6 separate regions of the Homo sapiens genome follow, and all the other regions are linked to region 3. The links are contacts of gene promoters, found by promoter capture Hi-C in human tissues and cell types (Jung and others, 2019). All regions are on one chromosome and are shown on one strand. Each heading gives the region's core, a stretch centred on a gene start or on the middle of the fragment in contact. The rest is flanking DNA. Distances are from core to core; before and after follow the strand shown. Region 1 has its middle 2.1 kb from the start of MIR3929. Region 2 has its middle 54 kb from the start of ZNF397. Region 3 holds the start of GALNT1 (polypeptide N-acetylgalactosaminyltransferase 1). Region 4 overlaps ZSCAN30 (zinc finger and SCAN domain containing 30). Region 5 holds the start of RPRD1A (regulation of nuclear pre-mRNA domain containing 1A). Region 6 overlaps RPRD1A (regulation of nuclear pre-mRNA domain containing 1A).

Region 1 (3,972 bases), core at 708-3,207, 350 kb after region 3:
CCTGCCTATGGGTCATTTAGTAGCCATCTGGGTTATCAGATCAACTGCCGTGACATCACAGTGCTGATGTTCAAGTAACCCTTATTTTAGTTCGTAATGGCCCCAGTGTGCAAGAATAGTGGTGCTGGCATATCATTATAATTGTCTGTTTTATTATAATTTGCTGTAATCTCTTCCTGTGCCTAATTTATAAATTAAACTTTATAATAATATAATATTATATATAATATAATATAATTTATAAATTAAACTTTATAATAATACATATAGGAAAACAACACAGTATATATACAGTTCTTTAGTATCCATGGTTTCAGGTATCCACTGGGGGGTCTTGGAATATGTCCCCAGCAGATAAGCAGGGTATACTATATAGAACTGTCAGGAGAAAAATATTTGAAACCTGAGAATAGGCAAAGATTTCATAGGTCACAATTATAATGATATGCCAGCATCACTTGTCCATGACAAGGTGCTTTACAGAGGCCATTGTCTCCTTTTAGCTAGGCAGTGAAAAGCACATTACAAGTAAAGAAAACAGCAGTTTTCTTAGACTGTTTACTTTGCAATAAAGGAATACCTGAAACTGGGTAATTTATAAAGAACAGGGGTTTATTTGGCTCATGCTTCTGCAGCCTATACAGGAAGCATAGGGCCTCAGAAGCTTCCAATCATGGCAGCAGGTGAAGGGGAGCCAGTATATCACGTAGTGAGAGAGGGAGCAAGAGAGAGAAGGAAGTCTCAGGCTCTTTTAAATAACCAGATCTTGGGCGAATTGGTAGAGCAAGAACTCCCTCATTACTGCAAGGATGGCACCAGGCCACTCAAGAGGGATCCACCCCTGTGATGCAAACACCTCCCACTAGGCCCACCTCCAACATTGGGGTTGCCATTCCAACGTGAGATTTGTAGGGCACAAGTATCCAAACTATATCAATGTCCTCTGAGTGTGTGTGTGTGCACGCGTGAACTCATGGGGTTTCTTATTCTCATAAATTCTGGCAGTCCTCTATTAATTACTTACTTCAGACACAAATTATAACCAGATATGGGACAATATAGTTACTAGGGAAAAAAGTTTACTTTCTAAAAAGAATTGGCATATTCTTTGGTTAATTAAGAGGAGAAAGTATCCAGAACCCTTTTCCAGTTCTCTTTGCAGAAGCGTATAATTGCTTTAAGGGTCTTTCTGGCGAAAAGTGATTAGAGGATACATTCCGCCAAGCACCAGGCTGCTCCCTCGGCATGTCCCCCACTTCTGCTGATGCACTAACGTGTCTCAAATCAGTTGCCAATTGGCAGGTGAATCCTATAAAACTGCAAACCTCTGGTGGAGAAACATTATATAAAAGGAATGTAATTGCAGGAAGCTTTCCACCTGCCCCATTCTAGAGGCATCGCAAAGCAGATTTTGTCTAAAGGCTTACCAGAAAGTGAGAGGGCTCCAAAAGGACTTAGAAGGCCCATCAAGCACAACCTGGCATTGTTCATCCCTAATAATTATATGTGCAGAGTTTTATAGTAGCTCTTCTCCTAGTGGTTCTTTTCATCAGCCTTGTCAATGGAGTGAGAATAAACCTCCCTTCCTGTCTGCCACCCCACCCCACCCCCACTGTGAAGCACCTGGGTTTTGTGTGGGGTTGACTCCCCCGTGCATCCCAGCATCAGCCCGGGCCTGACCAGTCTAGCCCAATCAGGGCATCCCCCACTCCCCTTGCTGTGGTATTTTGTTCAGGGATGAACTCCTGCAGAGAGAGTATGTCTTCATCAGAGACAACTGGCAGGCCTGCCCTGCCGAGGAAAGCCAGCCTGAAGACAAAGCCCACACAGGGCAAGAGAAACTAAGAGAAGTTAAGACAGAACCAGAACCCTGATCAAACCACACCTGGAGCCCACCAAGCATTTGTGTCGCAAAAACTTAGTGAATCCCATCTAATGTTCAAACCTGTGCATTGGATTAGGTTTTTAGTACCCTGCACCCAAAACCTCCTCACTAAAATACTACATATCCTCTGAAATATTAAACAAAAGAGAATGGAAACTACCAACTACTCATGTAATGAGTTTTAGAAATCCTGGCCTTGAAAGATGTTGTGTTCAGGAACGACTATATAACCAACATAGGTTGTATATTTTCATGGGGCAATGACACCTCTAATAATTCACGCATCATTTTCTACTCACGCACTGCTTACTTCTATAAGGATTTCACATGGCTTACAACAAAATACCTATATATTAGGATAATAAAATAAGAGTTAATTATCCAGGGGAAAAGATGGATATATCAGAAAACATCAGTGAAGTATAACTCTTAGGTTGGAACATACAATTTAGCTCCGAGCATTCTGTCAGCCAAGGTTAAAATTATTACAGGTTGAGTATCCCTACTCTGGAAAGCTGAAATCTGAAATGCTCTAAAATCCAAAACTTTTTAAGTACCAACATGATGCTCAAAAGAGACGCTCATTGGAGCATTTCCAATTTTAGATTTTTTGACTTAGGGATGCTGAACAACTAAATGTAATGCAAATATTCCAAAATCTGAAAAATATTGAAATCTGCAACACTTCTGGTTTCAAGCATTTCAGATAAGGGATACTCAACTCAACCTGTATCTTACTATCTGAAAAAGAAAAATATCTATGTTTGCTGGGAGGTATGACGCTTTTTCCTAGCAGTAGTAAGTAAGCTCTAGAGCAGCTGTAGTCAGTTTGGGAAGTTTAGGCCCTTGAATGCTGACATTAGCTGAACCACTTTAGCTTATCTGTATTTAGAGCATCACCAAAAGTGTTGACATTAATCTATGTACTGGCAGTGTTAGAATGTTATCAGATTCTGGCAGAGAAATGTTTACATCAGCACTTGCAAGAAAGTAGGGCGGGGTGCAGTGAGTTTTTCAAGGAAGTACAATGTGATCCCAGCCCCACAGGGTTGTTGTCAGCAGCAGCAGGAGGGCACACTGAGGGCTTGAACTCTGCAGCCCCTCTGTACCCTGAGGACAAACAGGGTAGGGAGGTGGAGAAGCAGAGAGATGAAAAAGGAGGAGGGAAACCATGTGGGGGAGTCCTCAGAAGGGCAGCTAAGCTGCAAAACCCTAAAGTATGCAACTGGAAAGGGAAGGGGTACTTCATTGAGCATGTGCTGGCACAGAAGAGAAATACAGAAACACCGAGAAGTCTTGCCCACCTTAAAAGATAAAAGGGAGATTTGCACACAGTTTAAACAAGGAGAGCATTGTTGGATAACCATAGCTAATCTTTACTGATCACAACACTCCATAAGGTAAGCACTATTATTACCCCTGTTACACTGACAAGAAAAGTAATGTTTATGTGCCCAAAATCTCATGGCTAATCAGTGATGGAGCTAGGGACCTGATCCCAGGTAGTCCAGCTCCAAAGCCAGCTGCTCACTTCTGGTGACTATGACCATCCCATCTACCCTGCTCTGACTGGAGCTGCAACTGTGGGAGACAGTTTCATGTGAGCTGTGACAGCATCCCCAACCCCAGCTTGTGCTGTCTCACATAATCCCACTCTATGCAGCCCAGAAGTGCAAGATAGTGAACTGCCCCAGGTAGCCTTCAACCAATTGGCAATGGAAGCAAATGGAGAAATGCTCTAGGCTCCTGGCCTACAGCAGATGGTTCTGAGAGGCCTTCTGTGTGCTAACTCCAGGCCTGACAGAATCGAGCTCCACCAACTTTAGAGGTAACCTCTGCTTCCTCTCTACCCCATGCTCCCTTCTTTGGGAATCACATCCCAAATAAACTAGCTGAGACATCCTTGTCTCAGGCTCTGCAAGAAAGGAAACTTAAAGCAAGAGAAGGCATCTGCATTATAGGACATCAGAGATCAGAAAGGATCTCATCAAATTCTCAGCAGGTTCATATTTGATTGTTAAAGTCATTGACCACTGTCCTGCTCTGGAGAAAGAAGTTGCAGAGGAGGAAGAGGTTTTCAGGGAAAT
Region 2 (4,317 bases), core at 734-3,233, 400 kb before region 3:
TTCCTTCCTCAATTGCCATCCTCCTAGCAGGGAAGATGTGGACTTACATTAACCCAAGGGTCCTGAGTGCAGCAGAGAATCTCTGGGCTGACTGCCCCTATTACAGTGATGAACAGATAAGAATGTGCTGATGGATGGAATCCCAAAACATAGAAAAGTAAGTCTTTAATTTGGCTGGCCAGATTGATCAAAATTTCAGTGGGGTTATTTTCTTACTACAAGAGAGATTCTAACGGTTGTAGTAACCGTTTGAGGGTATGAAGGAGAGTGGAGAGATCCTAGGATATTGTTGTCATAGAAGCTTAGGGATATAGAACAAAATCTTATCCTTGCTAAGCTCTGAATGGGGGACAACCCATATGGAGGAAGAACCAACAGACCCAGAAACCTGATTTTAAAATCCCACGTAGAGTGGCTCCCATCCAATTTCAGAACCCAGTTCAAGTGCAGCCTCCATTCTACCAATGGGCCCTGTCTAACTCAAGGAGATCTGGCAAGAAAACAAAACAAAAAAACACTTTTGTTCCTCCTCCAGAATCAAGAATCCAAGGAGCAATGAAAATGTCACAAAGGCAATATAAAGAAACCTCACTATTGTGACACTGGAAAATAATTCATTTACCCAACTGTCGATCCATTCCCTTCGACGTCCTAAAGATCCCATGCTCTTCCTGCTCCCCCCATCCATCATAAACCTTCATGGCACAGGCAAAGTCTCCCTGAATATTCATGGCAGAAAGCCATTCCATCGTGACCCAATTGATCACAGCTGCTGAGTGGCAGAGGCACCAAATGTATCATCAAAAAAGGAAAGTTTATGGACGTACAGAGGGAAATAATAGACACTGGGGACTCCAAAGTGGGGCATGGGGTAGGAAGGGGGAAAGGGTTAAAAAAGTTACCAATTGGGTACAGTGTTCACTATTTGGGTAATGGGTACACTAGGAGCCCACACCTCCCCATTATACCATATACCCATGTAACAAACCTGCACATGTAACCCTTGAATCTACAAAAATTTTTAAATTTTAAAAAATAAAGGAAAGGTTGTAAACACTGTTTCCAATGATCTCATAGCTGTTCCGTTACCTAAATCGATTGTGAAGATGGCAAAATTTAAGTGGTAATTTTTAATTATTCTAGAAACAGAAAAACATTCTCCACAGAACACTATTGGAAATAATTAAATCAATGCCCCACAGACAAAAAAAAATTATAATATTCTTTTTCTAGTGTATTAGTTTTATTTCTCTACGCTGGATTTCATTCCAGAAAGGACTTGTGGTAATCAGAATGCCTTACAATCATGTGTTAAAGGCTCTGTTCTTAAAATGCCACTGAGTTTGTTCTTCAGGGTGAAACTACTTTGTTCTTGGCATTTCTTATGGGAACTGAAGTCAGGCCAAAGTGTTGCCAAACCAGAGCTGAGAATCTCTGGGCTGACTGCTCCTCCTACAGTGATGAGCAGGTAAGAAGGTACTGATAAATGGAATCTCAAAACATAGAAAAGTGAGTCCCTAATTTGGCTGGCCACATTGACCAAATTTCAGCGGGGACACTTTCATATTATAAGAAGAGAGAATCAAACTAAAAGAAACACAGAAAAGGCCTGTTGTTTATAATGGAAAAATTGAGTGTATATAATAAGTAGCTAAAATGCAATGTTCATGGGTTCATCTTACATGTTCCAAAATTAATGTTTTGGTGGATGGTTTTTAGGATAAAAATAACCACAACCTAAGAAATCACAGTTATGAGGACATGTTACTCTAAGACATTTTTCTCATGTATTTTCTTTCTATTGCGGATTAAGCTGTATACACTGTTGAGAAGTTAATGCTTTCCCATTCAACAAAATTTTATGTTCTACTCATTTTGTGGCTTATGATGAGATGCACAGATGTTTTTTCCAAAGTCATGTTTAAAACATCATATTTCTAAACAAAAATAAAATGAACTATCCATGGTTAGGTTCCAGAAATAGACCGCCACACAGTTTTTCAGAAACAGTGCCAAGAATCCTGGCAGCTAATGTATAAAAGTCATTGTCCTTTCCCCAACCATGGTGGTATTCTGTGTCTCATGTACTTTCCAGAAATTATTACCATCCAGTAGATATTAACATTGTCACCCTCTAACAGTATAACGTATTCATGGAAATGAAAAATCAGAAACAAAAAAGGTGAGTAATATCATTTTGTCAATTGTCAGACCTCTAATAGGAATCAAATTAGGGCTTCCAAGATTTAGCTGACTGGGCACAATGCTAGGCAAAGCGACAGCACTAGATGCTACTTCCCCTCTGCAGGAGGTCAAAACGGCCCCTCAGGGGAATCTTTGTCTTAGTCAATAGATCCTTCTGAGATTAAGACCAAAGCAGGCATGTGTTAAAAATATGATCGCTGGAGGATTTGATGAGCTGATTACAACAAAGATGACACTGAAGTGGCTAGCATGTATTGATCATTGCTATGAGTGAAGCATCATACCAAAGGCTTTCTATAAATTAGCTCGTTTAATCCTTACAACAACCCCTTGGGATAGGATTATCAATGCCATTTTACATATGGGGAAATAAGCTTGTAATGACTAACTTGCCCAAAGGTACATGGCTAAGAATTAGTAAAGCTGTGATTCAAATTCAGTTGGGTCTGTATGCCAACTTCTTCATTTGCCAGATTCACTCTCCACCTAACTTCAGTGCCAGGTGGTCAACCTCTACAAACTGCATCCATGGGTGTCAGTGTCCTTCCTTCTGGATTCCAGTTGATTCATCCAATGGGGGCCAATCAGGAGATCAGAGGCTGAGGTGCTTATTCCCTGGGGTCCCCTGCTGTGGAGTCACCTCAAGCTGTCTATGTCCCTCAACTGAAGATCACTGTGCTTCCCAAGGTGGTACTCTCTACAAGACTCTCTCCCTCAGCTTCCAGGAACCAGTTTCTCCACTCCTTCACCCCTTCAAGCCAGAGGCAGTAACAGCTATACTGTTGCTAGCTCTGAGGTTCTGCACCATCCAATGTGATTTCACTTTATCCTTGTATATAGTCTCTGAATTAAATCTCTCATAAATTAAAATAATTTGAATGTATCTGTTGATTCCTGCTGGGGCCCTAATTAATAGAGTCTGATTCCAAAAATCATGCTCTCAACCACAAGGTTAAACTCCCCACTAAGTTATTTGAGAGTCTTAGGTGTTCGTGCTCTAGGATAAAATTACCTGGACTCCAGTATTACCTTATGTATAGCCTTGAACACTGTGAGGTCCCTTGAATTAGAGTCGTTGTTAAATCATTTCCTTACACCTTACTTGTATTACTTTATTCCTTTCTAAATCATATTACATTTTATATTATGGATGGAATTATCAATTTAAATATTAATACTTATAAAATTGATAATTTCTGATGAAATTTGATCTTTCAGAAAAAAATGGCATGTTTTTCCTTTCTAGGTCTCAGTTGTCTAGGACTTGGCTTTCTTTCTTTTTTGAGAATCTAAGCAGTAAAATAAAGACTACTGTGAATATTCGTGTTCAAATTCTTTAGAATATTGAATGGCAAAGTAGCTTCTGCTGTCTCTTCCTCTTTCTTTTAAGGATAGTGGCCATATTGGATTAGAGCCTCATCCTTATGACCTCATTTAAACCTAACTACCTCTTTAAAGGCCTTACCTTCAAATACAGTCACATTCTAAAGTACACAGAATTTAATCCACAATAGACACATTATAGATATTGTTGTTATAACAGCTTTTTATTGTTATAACAATGCTGCAATGAACAGTCTTGTAAATGTATCTTTGTACATGTGTCAGTAAATCCATATAACAAACTCCTAGAAATAGAACTGCTGAGTCAAAGAAATACATTTACATATATACTGCCAAATTGCCCCAAATTTGAACCTCCATCAACAGTGTCTGCGAGCAGTCATTTCCCCTCACACCCAACACATGGCATATTATTGAGCTCTTTTTTATCTTTTCCAATCTGTAAGTAAAAAAATACCTTATTTTAATCTGCTGCTTTTAATTATAAGTGAGGCTTTCTACAATATAATTTTTTATAGGATGATACCATCCTTTTTTTATACATGTTATCATATTTATAGTAATTAAGTGCTTACATTCTATATATTATTTTAGGGAATTAAAATTGCTAAAATATATTTACTTGAGTCTTATAGGCCACTATTGGCACTTTGGTTCCAATATATCTAATCCAATATAAAGAAGCAAGGCCACATATGCTTTGCATAGAGTCTGTTCTAGATAAGTACTTGCCGAATGAAACTGGTAATGATCCCATTTACTACCAGT
Region 3 (4,047 bases), core at 994-3,493:
CAGCATGGGACTGTACTGAATACCGCAGGCAATTGTTAACACAATGGTATTTGTGTATCTAAACACAGAAAAGGTAACCCATTGCCCAACGACATTATGAAGGCTACCTCACTTGGTGATAGTAACTTTTCAGCTGCATATAATCTTATGGGACCACCATTGTACAGGTGACCCATCATTGACCGGGGCATGGCTGTAAATAGATCCTACAATACAGGCTCTTACACATCTAGCTTCTTCCACTTAGCTTATCGTTTTTGAGGTTCCTCTATGTTGTATCTTCTATGACTACTTCGTTCCTTTTACTGAGTAGTAGTCCACTGTATGGCATATACTGCATTTTATCCACGCAGCAGTTTCTGGACATTTGGACTGTTTCTACTTCTTGGCTATCATGAATAACACTGTTATTAATATTCATGTACAAGTTACTGTATGAATTTATCTTCAGTTCTCTCAGGCATACGCCTAGGAGTGGAATTGTTGGGTGATAGAATACTTCATGTGTAACTTTTTAAAAAACCTGGAAAACTGTTTTCCAAAGTGGCTGCACCATTTTACATTTCCATAGGCAACGTATGAGGGTTCTAATTTCTCCATCTCTTCACCAACACTGCTATTGTCTGTCTGTCTTTTGTACTACAGCCAGTGTAGTGGGTGTCAAGAACTTCCTTGTTGTGCTTCTAATTTGCATTTCCCTATTAACTAATGATGTTGAACACCTTTTTATGTAATTGTTGATCATTTAAATATCTTTGGTAAAACGTCTATTCAATTGTTTTGCCCATTTAAAATTGGACTATTAGTCTTATTACTGAGTTGTAAGAGTTCTTCATACATTCTGGCTACAAGTCCTTTAACAGATATATGATTTGCCAATCTTTTCTCCCAAGATAAGAGTATTTTTTAACGATGACAACTTTATTCCAAAGTGAAGTTTCCTTGTGGAACAGTAACAGGCTAGTCATGATTGACTTTGTTTCAAAATATTATATAAGTACTTTTAAAATAGTAACTTTTAACTTTTATTTTAGAATACTTGGAAGATGTAGACAAGCAAAAACAGGATACTAAAATTCCAGAGATAATCTTCAGGTTTTTTTTTTTTTTTTTCGGACAGCCTTTTGGTTATGTGAGAGGTAATATAAATTTAAAAGTGGGACCACTTAAATATTAAGTAATCTCTTATTGCAGCTCTTGGTTGGCAAGCAATAAGACACAAACCTCTGAATTATTTAAGTAGAAAATTAATTTATTAAAAGAATGGTTGGTTATGCCTCGCGTGAGTGACAGAGCCAGGGTTTTGTCTTCTATCTTCAGGGCAGGGTACAGCTGGGTATTGGAATTGTACCAAGCAGTGTTTCCCAAGGGGGCACAGAGGGAGGGCCCCTCTCCGGGCACTGTGCGGGAGCCACTTCCCCAAACAGTCCCCGTTCTGCAAGGGCCCCGGCGTTGCTGCCCCCGAGACCCGGGTGCCTGCCCCGGCGGTGCGGGTCGCGGGCCTCCGCTCTCGCCGTCCTCCCTCAGTCCCGGGCCTCCTGCATCGCGGTCGCCAGGCGCAGGCTCAGCGCGGCTGACAGCGCTCCAGCTCCCGCGCTCGCGGCCGCCTCAGGCAGCCGACCGGGTTGGGGCGGCCCCGCGCTCGGCCCGGGAGCCGATCCGCTGTGAGGGCTCCTCCATCTCCTCCCACCCCGTGACCTGCTCGACGCGCAACAGCCCGAGTTGTCTTTAACTTGCTGCGGCAGCCTCTTTGTCCCGACCCAGGGTCGGGGGCACCTCTCGGCCTGGCCCGGCCCTGCCCGTAGCCGTGTGAGCGGGGGCCGGGACTGGGCGGTCGGTCCGGGAGGGGCGCCGCGCCCGACCCCGGAGTCCCGAGCCCGAGGGGAGCGTCGCGGCCCCGCGGTGGGCTCGCCGCAGCGGAGGGGGCGCGCATCCGGGTGAGCGCCGGCGCCCCCGCCTCCCCCGCGCAGCCGCACGGGCCGCCGCCGCCGCTGCCGCCGAGCACGCAGCGCAGGGAGGACCGCGCCCGAGCGCCTGCGGGCGCCCTGCGGCGCCCGCCGCGCGACGAGCCCCAAGTGAGCGGGCAGGCGGCGCGCATGCGGGGCGGCCCGGAGTAGCGCCGCCCGAGCCCGCGAGCGGGGCGCCCGGAGTAGCCGCCGACCCGAGCCGGGCGCGGAGGCGGGGGCGGGCGCGGCGGAGCGGGGCCCGGCCGGACCCGCCCGCCCGCCGGGGGAGCCGCCGGCAGTGGCCGAGGAGCGCGCGGCGGACGGCGGCCCGAGAGTAGCGCGCTGGCCGCGGGACCGGCCGCGACCGCCGCGGCCGGCCCGGAGGACGCCTGCCGCCGCCGCCGCCGCGCGCCTAGCGAGGTGAGTGTATCGCCCGCGGCTGGGCAGTCCCGGAGCCGCAGCGCTGCGCGCGGGTCGGAGGTGGAGAAAGAGGCCCCGCCGCGGCCGCGTCCCCGGTCCCTTTGTGGCCGGCGCTGCCTGGGGCCGGGGCGCGGGCACGCTCGGCGCGGGTTCGGGTCTGGGACCCCGGTGCCGTTGGACACGCGGCGTCTCTGGTTGGCAGCTTTGGCGAGCAGCGAGTTTCCGTCCTAGTTTGACATTGAGTTAGAACCGTTTTTCTTTAGAAGACGGAAGTTTGTTTTATTGACAAAAATAAAGCTAAATATGGCTTCTGGGTTCGGCCGTGTGGTACTTGCAACCGCGGTGCCAGCCTGACCCTCGCGGCGCCACGGGGGAGGGGAAGACACGCCGGCAGCGGGGGAGGGGGCTTCCCGGCCCGCTGCCCCCGAGGAGGACCCGGACCTAAATTAGCAAATGTTTGTGGTTGGGAAGTAGCGGGCTTTAGGTAATGTAGTAGCTTTTCCGCTTTTCCTGGAAGAATGAATGAATGAGATGTCATTTACTCATCCATAATCAATACGTTGCCCATTTAAGCATTTACCAGGAATTGGGATGATTTGCATTGTCATTGCTTCTCTTATCTGGTCAGCCTTGCTAGATGAGGTTCCCTTACTCCCCAGATTTGTGACCTTGTCCTCATTCTCAAAGCCACTGAGCTAACCAACCCGTCTACCAAACTCACTTGGCATTTTTTTGGTCAAGTGGGCAATAGGCAAAGTAGTCTTTCTGAACTGTTTCTGGAGGGCAGAGAATGTCACTTTGATCATATCTTATGTTTAATACATTGCTTTATAATCGTGTCAAGAACGCTGAGAGTTAGGAGGTCTTGTCATTTCACAGATGAAATAGTGAAGGCCCTAAGAAGTTGCAACTTTTCAGGTCACAATCTGAGCAGCAGAGTTGGGATTCAAACCTAGACCTTGTTAGTCCAGTCCTCTTTACATCACATCTGTGTCCAGACCTGGACTGTCCAGCGTGGGAGCCACTAACCACATGTGACTATTAAAATTAAATTTTAAAAATTCAGCTCCTCGGTCACAGTAGCCACATTTCAAGTGTTCCATAGCTAAATGTGGTTCTTTGCTACAGTTGAACAGCCCTGGTCTAAATTATACATACATTTGTTGTGTCAGTAAATATTTACTGAATGCGATCTGTCTATGAGGCACAGTTTTAAGTTCTGGGTACATGGTGAATAAGGGAGACACAATGTCCTTGCCCTATTGGAATTGACATTTTACATGATCCTTTGAGGATGTTTCCATGGTACTCCGAGTCCTGCTATTCCAAGTGTGGATGGTGTACCAGCAGCATCCCTGTCACCTCAGACTCAAGTAATGCAGAATGTGAAGCCCCGCTGCACATCAACTGAATCAGTATCTGCTTTACCAGGATTTCAAGTTATTTGTGTGCACTTTGAAACCTGAGAAGCCTTTGTTCAGCGTGCTGGTGATAACTGCGTTTAATGACTGCTCTGCTGGTTTGTTTGGTGCCTCTTAAGCAGCAGACTGCAAAACTCTTGGGAGCACTCACCATTTATGCAAATACTTGTTAAATGCCTGGCTTTCTCAATAGAGTTTAAGCTTTATGAGAGCAGAGATTGTGGCTTCCTTTTCCAGCCATGTATCACTGAAGACTTTAC
Region 4 (4,279 bases), core at 76-2,575, 300 kb before region 3:
ATTTCTTCTTTAGTCAGTTTTCTGTCTGCAGGGCATGTCAGAGACCTTCACAGCAGCCCCTCCCATCACAGGGCTTGGGGCTTAGGAGGAAAAAATGGTTTTGTGGGTGGGGCCTAGGGCTCCCCTGCTGTGTGCAGCCTAGGGACTTGTTGCCCTGCATCCTAGCCGCTCCAGCCATGGCTGAAAGGGGCCAACGTAAAGCTCGGGCTGTGGGTTTAGAGAGTGCAAGCCCCAAGCCTTGGCAGCTTCCACATGGTGTTGAGCCTGTGGACACACAGAAGTTAAGAATTGAGGTTTGGGAACCTCTGCCTAGATTTCAGAGGATATATGAAATGCCTGGCTGTCAAAGCAAAAGTTTGCTGCAGGGGCAGAGTCCTCATGGAGAATCTCTGCTAGAGCAGTATGGAAGGGAAATGTGGGGATGGAGTCCCCACACAGAGTCCCCAACAGGGAACTGCCTAGTGGAGCTGTGAGAAGAGGACCTCTGTCCTCCAGACCCCAGAATGTTAGATCCACTGAAAGCTTGCACCATGCACCTGGAAAAGCCACAGACACTCAATGCCAGCCTGTGAAAGCAGCCAGGAGGGGTGCTGTACCCTGCAAAGCCACAGGGGCAGAGCTGCCCAAGGCTATGCAAGCCCACCTCTTACATCAGTGTGCCCTGGATGTGAGACATGAAGTCAAAGGAGATCATTTCAGAGCTTTAAGATTTGACTGCTCCAATGGATTTCAGACTTGCATGGGGCCTGTACCCCCTTTGTTTTGGCCAATTTCTCCCATTTGGAATAGGTGTATTTACCCAGTGCCTGTATCCCCATCATATCCAGGAAGTAACTAACTTACTTTTGATTTTACAGGCTCATAGGCAGAAGGGATTTGCCTTGTCTCAGACTTTGGATTTGGACTTTTGGGTTAATGCTGGAATGAGCTAAGACTTTGGGGGACTGTTGGAAAGGCATGATCATGTTTTGAAATGTGAGGACATGAGATTTGGGAGGGGCCAGGGGCAAAATGATATGATTTGGCTGCGTCCCCACCCAAATCTCATCTTGAATTGTAGGTCCCATAATCCCCATGTGTCATGAGAGGGACCCAGTGGGAGGTAATTGAATCATGGGGACAGCTACCTCCATGCTGTTCTTATGACAGTGAGTTCTCATGAGATTTGATGGTTTTATAAGGGGCTTTTCCCCTTTTGCTTGGCACTTCTTCTTACCACCATGTGAAGAAGGATATGTTTGCTTCCCCTTCTGCCATGATTGTAAGTTTCCCGAAGCCTCCCCAGTCATGCTGAACTGTGAGCCAATTAAACATCTTTCCTTTATATATTACCCAGTCTCAGGTATGTCTTTATTGGCAGCATGAGAACAGACTAATACAGTAGGCTATACCATCTAGGTTTGTGGATGTATACTCTATGATGTTCACACAAAGACAAAAGCACCTGATGATGCATTTATCAGAATGTATCCCTAGCATCAAGCAAAAGATGACTGTACTTCCTTCCTTCTGCTGTTCTGTTGCTGTTGTTTTTAAGTTTGCTCTCATTTTTAGTTTCTTAAGGTGGAAGCTTAGGTTTAGATAATTTTTTTTCTAAAATAGACATATTAAAGCTATAATATTTCCTCTAACCATTACTTTTGCAGCATCCCATAAAATATTTTATGTTGTACTTCACTTTTATTCAGTTTAAAGAATTTTCTAATTTCTCTTATGATTTCTTCTTTGGATCATGGTTATTTATATTATGTTATTTAATTTCCAAATATTTGTGGAGTTCTCAAATTATGCTGACTCAATATGCCCTCTGGGTCAGTGGAATCCTCACTGTCCCCAACCTCTTGGTCTATAGATACCCAACTGGTCCTATCTTCTAGACTCTAAGAGGCTTCACTGGTCCCTGAGCCACCCTCAGCTGAGGTGGCCCTGCCATCTCTGCCCTTGGTAGTGTCCCCACCCTCTGGGTACCTCGTTTCCTGCTTTTGTAATACCAGAAGTTGGACAGCTTTTCTTCTTTTCATCCTGTCTCTGTCCTCTTCAAAATTAGCAGTGTTTCTGGTGATAGCATTGTCAAAATCCTTGTCAGTTTTCCATAGATTTTAAGAGAATCCATACAATTAGGCACAAGGATTCTCTATGGATCCTTCCTGGATAACCCAATTTCTATCCTGGATTCTGCTGAAATAGTTAATTGGATCCATAAATCACACACCTAATCGCTTCACCAAAACGTTTGTCCCAGTGCTGTCTCCAGAGCATGCTATCTGAGATAGGCTGAGAAATTTCCAAATCATCAAATGATTTTTGCTTAACAGTTTCCTCCTCAGTGTATCTCTTTCCTCTCATATTTTACCATAAGAAGGAAGGAAAAAACAAGCTACACCTTCTACTCCTTGCTTGGAAATATCCTCAGCTAAATACTCAGGTTCATTAGTTACAAGTTCTACTTTCCACCCAATAGCACAGCATGATTCAGCCAAGTTTCTGCCACTTCTAACAAGGATTGCTTGTTCTCTAGTTTCTAATACATGTTCCTCCTTTCATCTGAGATCTCACCAGAAGTATCTTTAATGTTCATTATTTCTAGCAGCATTCTCTTCATAGCAATGTATGTATTCCCTAAAATGTAACTTTCTCTACTGTCCTCTTTACTTCCTTCTGAGCCCTTACCAGAATCACCTTTAATCCTCCTATTTCTACAGTCTCTTCAAGGCTTTTTCTATTAAGAATTTCAAAACTCTTCCAGCTCAATCACTTACTCAATTCCAAAGCCACATCTATATTTTTAGATATTTGTACATAGCACCCCACTTCTGGTACCACAAACAAGATGGCATAATAGAAATGTATTCTCTCATAGTCTGGAGGTTAGAAGTACAAGATCAAGGTGCCAGCAGGGCCATACTCTCTCTGAAAGCTCTAGGGAAGTGTCTGTTCCATCCCACTGTCTTAGCTTCAGGTTGCTGGCAATCATTTGCATTCTTTGCCTTTTGGATGCATTACTCCAATCTCTGCCTCCATCATCACATGCATTCTCCTCTGTCTCCTCTGTGTCTGAATTTGCCTATCTCATAAGAACACCAGGCATTGGATTAAGGCCCACTCTAATCCTTTATGACCTTAACTTGATTATATCTGCAAGGGCCCTGTCTTAGGCCATTCAGGCTGCTATAACAAAAAATAGCATAGCCTGGGTAGCTTATAAACAACAGAAATTTATTTCTCATAGTACTGGAGGCTGGAAAGTACAAGATCAAGGCACTGAAAGATTTGGTGTCTGGAGAGGGTCTGCTTCCTGGTTCATAGAAGCCATCTTCTCACTGTGTCCTCATACGGCAGAAAGCCTTGGAGCACTCCAAGTCCTATTTTATAAAGACACTTAATCCCACTCATAAAGGCTCTGCCCTTATAACCTAATTACCTCCCATAGGCCCATGTCCAAATACTATCACATGAGGAGTTACAATTTAATATATGAATTTTGGGGGGACATAACATTCAGCCTACACAGACCCTATTTTCAAGTAAAGTTACATTCACAGGTAATGGAGGTTAGGGCTTGAACCTATCTTTTGGGGGGATACAATTCAATCCACAACAATGTGATTAACATAAACCAAGATTTATTTAAACCACTGTGGGCCAGAAGCAGTGGCTCATGCCTGTAATCCCAGCAGTTTGGGAGACTGAGGTGGGTAGACTGATTGAGCCCAGGAGTTCAAGACCAGCCTGGGCAACATAGTAAACCCTGACTCTACAAAAAAATAGAAAAATTAGCCAGTCATGGTGGCATGCGCCTATATTCCCAGCCACTTAGAAGGTTGAGGTGGGAGGATCACTTAAGCCCAGGAGGTTGAGGCTGCAGTGAGCTGTGATCACACCACTGCACTCCGGCCTGGGTGACACAGTGATACTTTGTCTCAAAAAAAAAAAAAAAATAGAGAGGAGAGAGACAGAGAAGGCAACCACCATTTATAAAAAGAGAGAGAGAGGCAGAGAGAGAGACATAGAAGGCAAGCAACACTTACTGAAAAAAAAGAAAGAAAACACACACATACACACACACACACAAAACACCATGACTTGGCTTTCAGTTATTTAACAGATAAAGATTTTTCAAGGTGATGCCAATGACCTTACTGATAAAAAACAAAGGGAATTATCTGACCTGAACTCAACTTTAAAGATCTTGGGGAATTATAGTATTTCTTGATACAAGGCCAGTCACTTCTGTCAAAGTGAACCTTGGGAACTGTGATTACACTGGCCATTATTTTCT
Region 5 (4,062 bases), core at 904-3,403, 490 kb after region 3:
TTTTATTAATATCACAATTTATTTGTCCATTCTCAAACTAATGGAATGGTTTTTTTGTTTTCTTATTTTTTGTAAAGAAAAGGTTTCACTATGTTGCACAGGCAGGGTCTCACTTGTTTTCAATTTTGTTATTATGAAGCTGCAATAAACAATTCTTGAGAACAATACTTATTTCTAGAATATATTCCTAGAAAGAAAACTGCTAGGTCAAAGGATATATTTAATATATACCTCCAACTTCATCAACTAAGTTGATCTACAAAATAGTTACATATTTTTACATTCCCACCAAGTGGTATAAGAGTTCCTGTTTCTCTGCAACAATTATCCATATTGTCATATTATTTTGCCAAATTGATGAACATAAAGTGGTACCTCACTGGCTTACTTTTTCCTGATTTGTAAGATTAAGTATCATTTATTGACCTTTCAGGTTTCCTCACGTGAAATGCCTATAAACAGTACTGCCATTTTTTTTTTTTACTGATTTGTAATAGTTATTAAGAGAGTCTGGGTATCAACCCTATACTGATTACATGTGTTTCTAAATGCTCTCTGCAAAAACAAAAAACAAGATAAACCTGTTACCGATTCTGAAATCTAGTAAAATGTAAAAGCAAAGCTAATTCCTGACTTTTCAAAGTTCACAGCTACTTTCCAGACCTTTATATCAGTGTTTCTGAAACCTTTCCGTCCACTCACAGAAGATGAATTCCTCATTCAGGGCCAATACACACATACTTACACATAAACTGAAAAACAAGGCTGTAAATCAATTTCTTCTCAAGGATGGGTGACGTTTTCATAACCACAAACAATATACAAGGACAGATTGTCTCCATTATATACAGCCAACATTTTGGCTCACATTTTGGCTGTTACGTACATACATCATATAGCTTTCACAAGGTTCAGTAAGCAAGCGTCTATTTTGATTAATAACGGTTAAAACCTTTAACACTTGATAAAAAACCATCATATCCATCAGGATGTTTGCAACAATAATGAAGAGTGTCCACTCTACCCAATGAATTAAGAATTAAAGTACAAGCTCAGACTAAGCAAATGAAATTTTTTATTTTCAGTCGCACTAGGATAATTTTTTACAAAGTTGCTCTGCATACATGAACTGATTCTGAATATTTTAGTGACAGACATCTCAAAAAAGTTTACTTCATTTACAGGAACACTATCAAATGTTTTGCAAAACAAAGACACTGCATTAGGGCATATAATCATAGAATAGGAAAGGACTTTAGGTGACTTACTCTAAATCTCTCCTTTTCAGGTAAGGCATCTGCAACGCAGAAGTTATAAGAAACTTGCCCAATTGAGACCCTCTAAAATCTACAAATTCAGAGTCTTTTCCACTGCATTACCCATCTTCTTATATTAGACTTCTAAAACTATTCCTCTATTAATTTCACAAGAATAAGTTGCTGCGTTACAGAAATGACGGAAGTAACTCCCAAACCCACACCAATCTTTTTCTTTCCACTCCCCTACCTTCTCCCTCCCTTATCCTCCATTATCATTCACAGAATGAAAAAAATACCTGACCACCTGAATTTCTGGCCCTAATTGGGTGTGGAGTCCCAACCCCCTGCTACTGTTTCCGTGTTAAGCTAACCGGAGTTTTCTTTTTTAATTATTCATTCCTTTATTCAATAAATATCTAAGCCCAGACTTTGCAGAAGCGTGGTGCACGCAGCTCCTCCAAGCCCGCAGACCACCGCGCGCTGGCATCCCGACGCCGGGAAGCCGGGGGCGCTGGAGAAACGGGGTTCCCGGGGGCGCCTGGAGGCCGGCCGGGTGGTGGGAAGCGGCCGACATAAGCGGTTGACTCACCTTTCCGCAGCTCCCGCTCCCACACGGTGACGATGGGACGCGAGTGTTTACGGTGGTGAATGAGCCACAGGGACAAGGTCTGCACGCTCTGCTGCGAGTTGCTCAACTCCGACAGCTTCTTCTCCAGCGCCGCCTCAGAGAAGGCTGACATCCCTCCGACACCACGTTCACGCCGTCCCACGCGGTGGGGCCGAGGGGAGGAGAGTTTCGCCGCCCTAGCTGCGGCCTCGCCCCCTCACCCCACCCTTCCCCACGCTCTCACCACGGCCGCCGCTTCATCCAAGACCGGCCGCAAACCAGCAAGATGGCGTCCGGCCGGCAGTGACGTCACAGGGACCCACGCCCCGCCCCTCCCGCTGCAAGCCCTGGGAAAACGCGCGGCCGAGAAGTGGAACCGCCAGGCGGAAGGGGCGGAGTCGAAACAAGTGCAGGGGAGGCGGACAGGGGCGTGATGCCTGGGTTACTCTCAGAGGCATGGTGGGAGTTTGCCAGGCCTGAACCCTCCTTAATGGAAACTCTGTCAAAGAAGCAGTGATTACAGATCTCTACATAGGCATGTAAACTGGTATAAATTGGGGCAGGCACTTTAAAGACTATTTGCATGACCAATTACGGTTAAAAATACACCTTCCTAAATAGAGTATAGGATGGTGACCAGAGGCTGGGAAGGGTAGTGGGGGAGGGCTAAATAGAAGGACTAATAGAAGGACTAAATATAAATAGGACCTAGTATTTGATAGCATGACAGGGGACTAGAGTCAGTAATAATTTAATTGTACATTTTAAAATAACTAAAAGGATAATTGGATTGTTTGTAACACAAAGGATAAATGCTTAAAGGGATGGATACCCAACTTTGCATAATGCGATTATTAGGCATTGCCATGCCTGTACCAAAATATCTTATGTACTCCATAAATATATACACCTACTATGTACCCACAAAAATGAAAAATGAATAAAAATTTAAAAATTATAAGAATACTCTTTCCTAGCAATTTCACTAATTGCTGTCAGTGCTGGAAAAAACACCAGCATGTTTGCACCAGGAAGCTTATTCTAGGTGTTCAGTCCAACACAGTAACAGTGAAAAATTGGAACATTCACTGTTGCAGTCTACACAGATACGTCTATATTCCATAATACATGCAGCAGTTTAAAATATGGATTAATCCAAGATATGGTGGATTTGGAAGGGTTTGAGTGGGTTTTTATGAGGTTCTTTTTGAGAGAGGGCCTCACTCTCACCCAGACTGGAGTTCAGTGCCATGATCACAGCTTACTGCAACCTCGAATTCCTGGGCTCAAGCATTCCTCCCACCTTGGCCTCCCAAAATGCTGGGATTACAGGTGTGAGCCACCATGCCCAGCTGGATTTTTTTTTAATTACAGAAGCAAAAGTATAGTATACCACTTCTTGTTTAAAGGTATGTAGTTCATATGGGTTCACAAGTACGTAAACTCATGGCAAAGGTTTGGAGGAATACACACCACATGAATACTGGTCTCAGGGAGAGGATCAGAATTGGAGCCCTTAAATTGTGTCCATATTGTTTTCATTTTTACAAAAAGAATACGTGAATATATTACTTATATAGTTAAAAATTAATTACAGAAATCTCATTGTTAATCTAATGCATACACCATCATATTCTAAAATTTTTTTTGAGACCGGGTCTTACTCTGTTGCCCAGGCTGGAGTATGTGGTTCAGTCATGTTCACTGCAGTCTCGACCTCTGGGCTCAAGCAATCCTCCTCTGTGTCGGCCTCCCAAAGTGCTGGGAATACAGTTGTAAGCCACCATGCCTGGCCCTAAATATTAATACAAGAAACTTCCAGAAAGATACATAAGAAACCATAGGAATTCCTAAACTATCTTTTGACAAGCATCGTTCAAGAACTTTGCGGCCAGATGTGTGGCTCATGTCTATAATCCCAGCACTCTGGGAGGCCGAGGTGGGAGGATTGCTTGAGCCCAGGAGTTAGACACCAACCTGGGTAACATAGTGAGTCCCTGTCTTTACTAAAAATTTAAAAATTAGCTGGGCATGGTGGTATGCGCCTATGGTCCCAGGAAGCTGAGGTAGGAGGATCACCTGAACCTGAGAGGCAGAGGTTGCCGTGAGTCATGATTGTGCCACTGCACTCCAGCCTGAGCAACAGAGCAAGACCCTGTCTCAAAAAATGAAAAGGAAGGGCAGGGCACGGTGGCT
Region 6 (3,983 bases), core at 622-3,121, 450 kb after region 3:
AAAACAGCTGAACATAATTGAGGTGATTTCTTCTTTATAATATAAAATCCAGTTATGCAGAAGAACAACAAAAAAAGTTCCTAGAAGGCTTTATTTCAAGACAGTGATTACCTCTGAGAAGAGAGGGAGCAGAAAAAGTTGGAAAAAATAGGACTTTAGCATTTGCTTTAATCTTAGATTTAAGTAAAAACAGGAAGCAATGTGTCTTTTTGATGAAGTGCACTGGCTCTGGAGGCAGATTCTCTGCGTTCCAAACAACTCACTAGCTCTTTGTGACCTTAGGCAAGTTACTTAATCTTCCTGTGCCTCAGTTCTGTATCTATCAAATGTGGATAATACATCCTGCTGTGTAAGATTAAATGAGTTGCTTATGTGAAGTGCCTAGAATAGTACCTGACACATGAATGTTAACATTATTATTATCATCAGCCTCATAATCTATGACTGTCAACTATGAAATGTGGCTGGAAGGCACTGGGGGAAAAGGGGGTTGTGGGGAGTGGCATCTGATCTATTTTCTACAGTTACACTTCAAATATAAATTCTGTTTTTGTAAACAGTGACAAATGACCATCATCATAAGTGAGAAAGTATAAAGCAGAATAAAGTTACAGTCTTCTCTTCAATTTTCAAAAACATGAGACAATACAGGCTTCAGGGTTTGATATTTATTTTTAGCAGGAAGAATATACTAATGGTGACGACATCGTTAGAAGATACGCCCATGTCCAATATCTGCAACAGAAGCTCAATAGAAGTTAAAGAAACCATACTAAAAGACTAAAGACAAAAATTGTATGACATTACTTACCCTTAATTCTGTGGACAATAAAACAATTAACACTATGTTTAAAATTGAGGTTTCATCACAAGGTGAAATAGTGGCAAGTTAATTATCAAATTCATCTTTTAAAAAAAAAAACCATCTTTTCCTTTCCATGTAGAAGTGGGCAACCTCTTCAAAGGTATAGTGGCCACCAACTATCATCATCTGAGGGTATTTATACGAGCAGAGAAGGAGTAAATTGCAAAGGAGTAGTGCTAACTTGAGAGCTGGGAATTTGAGGTGGGAATAATTAAGTAGCAGCTCCCATGGGTAGCAATGGCAATCTAATCTAAGCACCATTTTTGGCACAATTAGAGACTGCTGAATCAATAACTAAACACTAATAAAAATAACTTAATGGGGTAGTACCATGACATTCCTACAAATTTACAGTGAGCTTTCTGTAAATAAAGGGATTCAAATTAGAAATTCTCCTACATATTATTACAATAAGAAATTGCCACAGCAATACAATTTAAACAAGAACTCATCAACTGAAAGATTTTTTTTACATAAAACCAAATCTGGCTCATGTATCCCTAACAATTGCTACTCTAATCAAAGGAAATACGAGCATTTTTTAAAATCACCTCCTGTACTCCCAGATTTCTCATTAGCGGTATTAATTATTACTTAATTTACAGGAGCAATGAATTTCTGCCTAAGAGTGTGAGCCGGGAGTGGGGCTGGAACATGTAAGCATTAGAATTGGCGGGTGGAATTAAGGGAGTAATTTAAAGACTTAATGGTATACCTAAAAGACTACATCTTCTCAAAACAGAAACTAAATAAATCCTACTACAAGTGACTGCCACCTGCTATTTTCCTATTATTTCTGTGATACATTAGGGTTAAACTGGTAAGATAAATTATAGTTGCATGGAATTTCACAAGAATAATTTTTAAATGCAATCAATTTTGCTAATTCCAAATTTCTAAGTTTACTTGCAAGATTAATTTGGTTCAAGTAGAAGAAAAACCATTAATACAAGGAGAAGCTTACCTGGGCTACTGCTTAAAAAGGTCTATGTTAAAAAATGCAAAATGTGCACATAGATTAAAATATTTTAAAATTCCTAACAAAAAGAGAATTAAATAAATAAGCACTAAAGAAGAAAAAGGTTACGCACTTCCAATTTATGCTCTTTCTCTGCAAGGGCTTCCTTTTGACAACGAAGAAAATCTGCTAACATTCGAGTGAGTTGCTTTCTATCATCTATTTCTGCCGCCAATCTGCCATTGTAATCTGCCAGCAACATACACGCATCCTCTACCATTTTGGAAAGCCTTTCTCCAGATTCTTTATCTAAGAAAAGCACGGGATAATAAAATATTATACAACAAAAACAATGACATATGCTGTTCTCTCATCCCAACTCCCAAAAAAGTTCTGGATCACATTTTCTTTTCTTACCTGTTATTTTATCTAATAGAGATACTTCTTGGACTTCAACAGGTAAAGAAGCTATCCTCTGATGAACTGCTGCATCACCTGAGGCTGCATTTTCCAGATCTTGTAATGCTCTAACGAGATCTAGAGTCTAAAAAGTACACAACTTCAGAACCAAAATAAATTGAGCTTAAACAAGTGCAAAAGACTTTAATTTCATATTCTTTCATCCCTATGGGCTATTTACTAGTACAAAGCTCCTAATATAAACTGCTTTTGAAGACAATCAATTTCTTTCATATGTTAAGAAAAAAGGAGGCTATACTATGTTAGGTGTTGAAAATATAAACAGGACAAGGCCCTAGACCTTGAAGAGAGCTTACTCCAGTGGTGGAGACAGAGTAATAATAATTATTTGAGTACTAAAATGAGGTAATGAGGATTTATATGGCAAATACATCAGTGGTGAAAGAGAAGGTAGGCTATAACATCAACCTAGAGAATACAAGTTTTATGTATGATATATTCATTACATTATCATTGTACACTAGAAGTTTTTTTAGTATTAAATTGGATATTATGGAAAGAGGGTTACAAATCATCTACTACAACACAGAAGAGTCTCCCAGATTTCATTTCTAAATGCTGTAATTAAAGCCCAAGAGAAATGTAGTTCTAGAATATGTTCAAATATGATATCTTCAAGTATCCTATGGCTTGTTAATAAGATTAAAATATTTCAAAATTCCATAATCTGATGACTAATATATATTGCTTAACCAGTACTGAAATTATTTTATCATTAAAATATTTTACTTCCACTGTTTTCATACAAGCTATAATTAGGAGGGAAGCGCAACTCTTTGCTGGTGATTTCACAACTCATAATGTCTATAAAGTTATTCCAAAGAAAAACAATTAAATTTTATTTTTACTAGTTTCCATTCTCCAGCCCATCTTTTTCATCTTTCTTTCTTAATTTCTAATACTAGATTCAGAAACACTAGGAAATTACACATATGCTTTAAAAAATATAGGATATTAGTAATTCTGTGTATATATTAAGATTTTTAAACTATTCCCTTGAAAAAAAGGGTAGCACATGACAAATGATCAAATGTGGTAGGAATGAATGAAACTAATAAGAAATATACTATCCTACGTGTGCTCACTCATTAGAAGTGTTTAAAATTTCAGTATTTTAAAAAATAATTTTGTTGTAAGATATATCCCCTCTACAATTAAGGTGTGCTTAAGAGTAACAACAATTACCAGAAAGCTTGTTTCTCATCTTGCCACAACTAATATATTATTTTTAAAATCATTCTTAGAAAATTCTAATTGTCTGGAGTTCTAAGAAGAAATCTGGCTTTATTGTCTTGGCAATGCATTGATGCTTTAATTACAACCTGATCTCATCACACCTTCACAGTCCTACATGAGTACATTCTAAGTTCCCAATGCCTGATCAAGCATCAGATAAGAAAGCAAAGTTGTCTGAAACAATACTAAGCCTACTACTTCCTACCAGAGGAGAATGAAATGAGTTTAACGGGAACCTACAAAGAGATTTTAGCCATTCTTATAAAGAATAACACACACACAAAAATGAAGACCACAAAGCTGAACCATTGATAATTAAGCAGCACAACTAATCTAAAAAACGATCATTATAAAACAAAGAGCAACAGCATTTTACACAAGTACTAGAGGAGAGGCAGATGATTACTTAAAAATACTCCTAAGATATGCAACTGTGGTTACCCT

The links. Contacts are between HindIII fragments. The study calls those that stand out against the background at their distance.
Region 1: a contact is called between a fragment that was not itself captured here and the fragment with the promoter of GALNT1 in region 3, in 1 of the 25 tissues and cell types used here (lymphoblastoid cells).
Region 2: a fragment that was not itself captured here is called in contact with the fragment with the promoter of GALNT1 in region 3 in 1 of the 25 tissues and cell types used here (lymphoblastoid cells).
Region 4: a contact is called between a fragment that was not itself captured here and the fragment with the promoter of GALNT1 in region 3, in 2 of the 25 tissues and cell types used here (dorsolateral prefrontal cortex and lymphoblastoid cells).
Region 5: the fragment with the promoter of RPRD1A here is called in contact with the fragment with the promoter of GALNT1 in region 3 in 2 of the 25 tissues and cell types used here (dorsolateral prefrontal cortex and spleen).
Region 6: a contact is called between a fragment that was not itself captured here and the fragment with the promoter of GALNT1 in region 3, in 1 of the 25 tissues and cell types used here (H1 embryonic stem cells).

What each region holds. Positions count from the first base shown.
Region 1 is chr18:35,934,275-35,938,246 of GRCh38, forward strand. No RefSeq gene overlaps it. Among named protein-coding and RNA genes, the nearest start is that of MIR3929, 2.1 kb to the left of the region's middle. The HindIII fragment of the contact is 7,355 bases long and covers 1-3,972 here.
Region 2 is chr18:35,184,552-35,188,868 of GRCh38, forward strand. No RefSeq gene overlaps it. Among named protein-coding and RNA genes, the nearest start is that of ZNF397, 54 kb to the right of the region's middle. The HindIII fragment of the contact is 5,625 bases long and covers 1-4,317 here.
Region 3 is chr18:35,579,497-35,583,543 of GRCh38, forward strand. It overlaps GALNT1 (polypeptide N-acetylgalactosaminyltransferase 1), which reads left to right and starts at 2,244. Exons shown (of 12, transcript NM_020474.4): 1 at 2,244-2,366. RefSeq lists a silencer at 1,286-1,985. The HindIII fragment of the contact is 13,517 bases long and covers 1-4,047 here.
Region 4 is chr18:35,276,354-35,280,632 of GRCh38, forward strand. All of the region lies in intron 1 of ZSCAN30 (zinc finger and SCAN domain containing 30), which reads right to left. Among named protein-coding and RNA genes, the nearest start is that of ZSCAN30, 12 kb to the right of the region's middle. The HindIII fragment of the contact is 6,261 bases long and covers 1-4,279 here.
Region 5 is chr18:36,065,406-36,069,467 of GRCh38, forward strand. RPRD1A (regulation of nuclear pre-mRNA domain containing 1A) reads right to left here and starts at 2,154. Exons shown (of 7, transcript NM_018170.5): 1 at 1,849-2,154. The coding sequence starts at 1,999. RefSeq lists enhancers at 1,854-1,993, 1,877-2,392, 2,104-2,333. The HindIII fragment of the contact is 14,008 bases long and covers 1-4,062 here.
Region 6 is chr18:36,024,944-36,028,926 of GRCh38, forward strand. RPRD1A (regulation of nuclear pre-mRNA domain containing 1A) reads right to left here. Exons shown (of 7, transcript NM_018170.5): 5 at 2,241-2,367; 6 at 1,957-2,132. Among named protein-coding and RNA genes, the nearest start is that of RPRD1A, 41 kb to the right of the region's middle. RefSeq lists a silencer at 103-397. The HindIII fragment of the contact is 4,412 bases long and covers 1-3,983 here.